Regions from separate parts of the Homo sapiens genome. Here region 1 is linked to region 2. Evidence: promoter capture Hi-C in human tissues and cell types (Jung and others, 2019). All regions are on one chromosome and are shown on one strand. The core of a region is centred on a gene start or on the middle of the fragment in contact, and the rest is flanking DNA. Distances in the headings are between cores, read along the strand shown.

The links. Contacts are between HindIII fragments. The study calls those that stand out against the background at their distance.
Region 1: a fragment that was not itself captured here is called in contact with the fragment with the promoter of FGR in region 2 in 1 of the 25 tissues and cell types used here (neural progenitor cells).

The regions. Positions count from the first base shown.
Region 1 is chr1:27,084,152-27,087,281 of GRCh38, reverse strand. No RefSeq gene overlaps it. Among named protein-coding and RNA genes, the nearest start is that of SLC9A1, 69 kb to the left of the region's middle. The HindIII fragment of the contact is 7,329 bases long and covers 1-3,130 here.
Region 2 is chr1:27,633,746-27,636,685 of GRCh38, reverse strand. It overlaps FGR (FGR proto-oncogene, Src family tyrosine kinase), which reads left to right and starts at 1,501. Exons shown (of 13, transcript NM_005248.3): 1 at 1,501-1,621. RefSeq lists a silencer at 2,376-2,425. The HindIII fragment of the contact is 29,896 bases long and covers 1-2,940 here.

The sequences.
Region 1 (3,130 bases), core at 134-2,633, 550 kb after region 2:
ACAAAAATTAGCTGGGGCGCATGCCTGTAATCCCACCTACTCAAGAGGCTGAGGCAGGAGAATTGCTTGAACCCAGGAGGCGGAGGTTGCGGTGAGCCAAGGTCGTGCCACTGCACTCCAGTCTGGGTGACAAGAGTGAGACTCTCAAAGAAAACTGAGGCTCAGCTGCCCCATGCAATTTGACAGATAGGTCCAGAGCACCTGCTGTGTGTGTGTGTGTGTGTGTGTGTGTGTGTGTGTGTGTGTGTGTGTTGTGTGGCGGGGGGTGGTGTGTGTCTGTGGTGTGAGGTATGTGTGGGGTGTGTGTTTGGTGTGTGGTGTGTGGTTGTGTGTGTGGTGTTTGGTACGTGAGGTGTGTGTGTGGTGTGTGGTGTCTATGGGTGTTGTGTATGCTGTGTGTGTGTGTGGTGTGTGTGGATGTGGTGTGTGTGGTGTGATATGTGGGGTGTGTGGTGTGTGTGGGATAGGCGGTGTCTCTGTGTGTGATGTGTGTGGTGTGCAGGGTGTGTATGGGGTGTGTGGGGTGTGTGTATGTGTGTAGTGTGTGGTGTGTGTGGTATGTGGGATGTGTGGTGTGTAGTGTGTGTGGTGTGGTGTATGGATGTGGTGTGTGTGGTGTCTGTGTGTGTGGTATGTGGGGTATGTGGTATGTGTGTGGTGTGTATGTGTGGTGCAGTGTGTGGGCTGTGTGGTATGTGGTGTGTGTGTGGTGTGGTGTGTGTGATCTTTGTGGTGTGTGGGGGTGGTGTGTGAGGTGTATGTGGTGTGTGATGTGTGTGTGGTATGGTGTGTGTTGTGGTTGGCAGAATTGTAAGATGGCCTCCAAGATTCCTGCCTTTTGTTGTACAAGACATGTATAATCCCCTCCCCTTGACGGTATACAGGCAGAACCTGTATGGTGGGATATTGCTGTGATTAGGTTACATTATATAGCAAAGGTGAATATTGCAAATATAATTAAGGCCCCTAATCAGTTGACTTTGAATTAATCAGAAGAAACTCATCTTGGTGGGCCTGACCTAATCAGGTGAGCCTTTTACAGAGCGCTTTACTGCTGGCCTTGAAGGAGCAAACTGTCCTCTTGTGAAGGGGGTCACATGTCAGTGAGCAACTGGTGGCCTCTAGGAGCTACGAATGGCCCCTGTTGGCAGCCAGCAAGAAAGTAGAAACCTCAGTCCTCCAATTGCAGGAAACTGAATTCTGCAACAACCAATAAGCTTGGAAGATGACCCTGAGCCCCAGCTGGGGTCACAGTCTGGGCTAGTTCCTTGATTTCAGCCTGGTAAGATGCTAAGCAGAGGACTCAAAACATGCTGGGCTTCTGACCCACAGAAACTGTGACACAATAAATGTGTTTTTTGTTTGTTTGTTTGTTTGTTTGTTTGTTTTTGACGGAGTCTCGTTCTGTCACCCAGGCTGGAGTGCAATGGCACAATCTCGGCTTACTGCAACTTCCACCTCCTGGGTTCAAGAGATTCTCCTGCCTCAGCCTCCCAAGTAGCTGGGATTACAGGTGCGCGCCACCACACCTGGCTAATTTTTGTATTTTTAGTAGAGACGGTTTCGCCATGTTGACCAGGGTGGTCTCAAACTCCTGACCTCAGGTGATCTACCCACCTCAGCCTCCCAAAGTACTGAGATTACAGGCATGAGCCACCACGCCTGGCAAATGTGTGTTCTTTTAAGCCACTAAGTTTGTGGTAATGTATTACACAGCAATAGAAAACTAATACAGCCATTAGTTTACTTTTGTTTTGTTTGTGTGTGTGTTGGGGGTGGAGAGTGGATATTAGAAATGTTTTTAAAGTGGTGGGAAATGACCCAGTAGAGAAGGAAACACTTTGATAAAGTAAAAGAGGTAGAGATTCAGAATCAAGACATTCTGAGGCCAGGCACAGTGGCTCACATCTGTAATCCCAGCACTTTGGGAGGCTGAAGCAGGAGGAGCTCTTGAGTCCAGGAGTTCAAGACAAGCCTGGGCAACATAGAGACACTGTGTCTCTACAAAAAACAAAAGACAAAAAAACATAGCCAGGCATGGGTGGTGGCCCATGCCTGTGGCCCCAGCTAGTCAGGAGGCTGAGGTGGGAGGGTCGCTTCGCCCAGGAGATTGAGGCATGATTGCACCACTGCACTCCAGTCTTGGTGACAGAGCGAGACCCTGTCTTAAAAAGAAGGAGAAGGAGGAAAAGAAGGAGAAGAAAGAGAAGAAGGGGAAGAAGAAGGAGGAGAAGAAGAAAAGAAGAAAGAAGAGAGAGAAAAAAAAGACACCCTTGAGAGAAGTAGGGACAACATCTCCAAAGTAGGAAGAAGCAGATGGGTTTGCAGATTTTGTGGAGGAAAGATGAAAAGGTGTCTGTGTGACTGAAGGCATTAATTCTCTCAATAAATAGTCAGGCAAGGTTACCAAATCAAATGAGAATGAATCTAGAAAGGGAAATAGGAAATTTGAAGAAAGAGGAAAAGAAGTGAAATAGTTACCTTGAGAAAGAGGAGAAGAAAGAAACTGTTCGTGTTAGAAAAACAGTAGAGTTTTCCGTGTCGAGTCCCTTTGATGTTTGAGAACAGTGGCACTGCTCAGCTCAGCTGTACGAATTTGTCAGTGATCTTCAGATACTTGAGTGCAGGCACCAAGACAGATGGGTTTTGCCAGGCAAATAAGATGAAGTCAAAGAGGGGTTATGGAGTTCCAGGTATTGGCAAAGAGATAGTGATAATGATAAACCATAGACCCTAGAAGAGACCCAAAGAGAGGTTAAGACTGGAGGAAGTTGAGAACTAGGATTAATGTACTGGACATATCCCTGGACGGGAGCATTATTAAATGGGTCTCTGTTAGTTGGGGATGAGGCTAAGGTGCTGTCACAAAGCTGTCCCCAAATACAGCAGCTTCACATAAGTGTTTTTTTCTCATGTAACGATCCTGAGATAAGTGGTCCAGGTTGTTGGGGCCACTGTGTGCCCTGCTGTCATTCAATGCCAGGTTCCTTCCATCTCATTGCTCCTCTGACATCCCCTAAGGTGTCCTCCTAATTTTCATGGTCAAACCATGGTCCGTGTTTAAACCACGGGAAGGAAATGAGCATGAAGGAGAAGGCACCTAAATTCTAAAGCCTGTAGTTGGAGGTGA
Region 2 (2,940 bases), core at 252-2,751:
CCACATCCCAACAGACACATCCTTCTCCACCAAACAGCCCTCCCCACCACACCTCTTCCTCTCCTGGACAGGAGGGATATTCCGGGTTCTTGCTTTAAGGCTGAAGTAACAGTGGTGGGAGTGGGGACTGAACCCCAGATTGAGGAGGGGTCAGGGATCCCTATCAGACAGAGAGACTGGAACTGATAGAGGATGCTACCGTTTCTCTTTTTGTTTTTAAAAATCTTTTTCCACATGTTCTAAGATACTCAGTTTTTCTTCCTTTTTTTTTTTTTTTTTTTTTTTCTTGAGACGGAGTCTCGCTCTGTCGCCCAGGCTGGAGTGCAGTGGCGCCATCTCGGCTCACTGCAAGCTCCGCCTCCCGGGTTCACACCATTCTCCTGCCTCAGCCTCCTGAGTAGCTGAGACTACAGGCGCCCGCCACCACGCCCGGCTAATTTTTTGATTTTTAGTAGAGATGGGCTTTCACTGTGTTAGCCAGGACGGTCTTGATCTCCTAACATCGTGATCCACCCGCCTCGGCCTCCCAAAGTGCTGGGATTACAGGCGTGAGCCGCTGCACCCGGCCTTTTCTTTCTTTTTTTTAAAAAAAGTCATTTTCTGCAACAAAACCCACATTCTTTTTTTGTGTTTTTTTTTTTTAAGGCAGGGTCTTGCTCTGTCACCCAAGGTAGAGTGCAGTAGCTCAATCACAGCTCACTGCAGCCTCGACCTGCCTGACTCGAGGGATCCTTCCACCTCTGCCTCTGCAGTAGCTGGGACCACAGGTGCACACCACCACACCGAGCTAACTTAAGAAAAATTTTTTTTGGTAGAGATGGTGTCTCCCTATGCTGCCTAGGCTGGTCTGGAATTCCTGGGCTCAAGCAATCCTCCCACCCAACCTCCCAAAGTGCTGGGATTACAGGCTGAGCCACTGCCCCCAGCCAGTTACTCAGTTTTTCTAAAACTTGGGTGCCTGGGGGAGGCTGACACCCTTCCCACTCCTCTGAAAGGCAGTTTCCTAAGGGAAGGGTCTTCTGCTGCTCACCACCCTTAACAGCCCTGTGTCCCCAGTGCTCAGCCCCTGAGGAAGGGAAGGCGTGCTGACAGGGTCCATGTGATCCATGTCCAGTGGCTCTGGTGACAGCAGTCTGAAGTCAACTGGCTGTGAGAACTCGAGTAAGGCCAGTCCCGATCTGGTCCTCAGTGATGGAGAAAAGCCCCTCTTAACCTCCAATTCAATGATCCTAAAAGAGCAGGTGCTTCGGGGGTGCTGAAACTGCGCTTTTGGAGGGGGCTTTTGGGAAGGCCGGGCTGGGGACTCAGGTCTGGAGGGTGACAGAGCCGACCTCCCGTAAACCAGGGAGGAGGAAGGTGGGGGCGGGTGGGCCTAGGATCTGGGGGCGCCTCCTCGCTGCGGGGAGCTGGCTTGGGGCTAGGGCGTGACTGTCTCCCTGCCACCATCACCGCCCGCCGGCCGTGACTGCAATAAGAGAAGTCCGAGGCGGCTTCCTCCTCCCTGCCCAGCAGGGGCGGCGGTCAGAGGCGGGCAGCACCCCAGTTCTCCCCGCACGCCGGCACTCGCGGCTGCTGGAGCCCCGGCTGGCTCACCCCGGGGCCGGGCAGAATTGGGCTCCAGGTAAGCGACAGCGTCGGGTGGGGACTGGGCAGGTCAAGCAGTGCCCTCCCCCTCGAGGCTCTGGAGAGAGGACTGGGGGTACACGGGAAGAGAAGCCTGAACCTGGGGGTCGGGGGACACATGAGCAAGGTGACAGCCAAAGGGACCCCAGCCCGAAAAGGCCTAAGGAGGAAAACGGGCGACCTGAAAAGCAAGGCTGATAAACCTGGAGGAGAGGGCGGAGGGGAGCACGGGGGAAGCCGACCAAAGGGACCCCCAAAAAGGTCTAGTGGGTAAAATGGAGGGGACTGATAAGAGTTTAGGAAGGGGGCTGAGGTGGGGGAGAAGGATTAAGGGGAATCCCCAGGACGGTCTGGGGGAGAAACTGAAGGGATCGTGAGAGTGGGACTTTGGGGAGAAGCCGACGGGTCTGATGGGTCCAGGAGAGGGGAAATGGGTGGGGGTGCTGGAGGGAACAGGAGAGGGAGCTGGCGGGAAGGGGGTTGAGGAGAACGACTTCTGGAGGACGGAGAACCTGGGGTGCAATTGCGGGTCCAGGAAGTTCCCCTCTTCCGAGCCGGCCGAAGTCGGGGTGAAGCCCACAGCCCGCAGGGTAACGTTAGCGGCCGCGACCGCGGCCCCGCGACCCTCTCGGCCCGCCCTTGCGGTAGGTTCCGGGCTGCAGGGGACTCCTGCCGGGCGCGCGAGGCGTGGGTCCCCGCTTCCTGGGGAAGTCCCCGCCCTCGGCAGGGACAGGCCTCTCCGGGCGCCCCCTCCGCGCCCGCGGCGGTCTCGGCCCGCGCTCCCCGCTGGATCCGGGAATTGCTGCCGCCCCGACGGAAATCCTGCCTTTGACCGCGAGTGCCCGCAGGGGCTGCCTCCAAGGCAACGAGAGGGCGGGCCGCGCTGGGCCGCCGCGGGGCTCCGGGTGGGCGCAGCCCCCTTTGCTCTCCGCCTTCGCCCCCTTTTGGAATCCTCGGTCTGGTGGGTGGGGGGTGGGCTTCCCGACCGAGGTAGGAGGCGATGCCGCTGTGTTCAGGGATCCTGGGGTGGAGGATCTGCTGTTTGAGAGACCTGGGTTCTTAGCAAGACTGGGCCCTTAATTGCTGTGTGACTGTGGGCAAGTTACAGGGCTTCTCTGGGCCTCACTTTCCTCATCTGAACTATGGTGAGAAATGATCCTTGTGTCCACTCTTCCCCCACGAGAATCAGGTGCAGAAAGCAGTTTTTGCTGAGTGTCCTGAAGGGTTAAGGGCTATCCCTGACTCAGCGAGCCTCCCCTTCACCTTCTCAAAAACATGCAGAGGAGGCCAGCCTGGGCAGCACAGGGAGACCCCCGT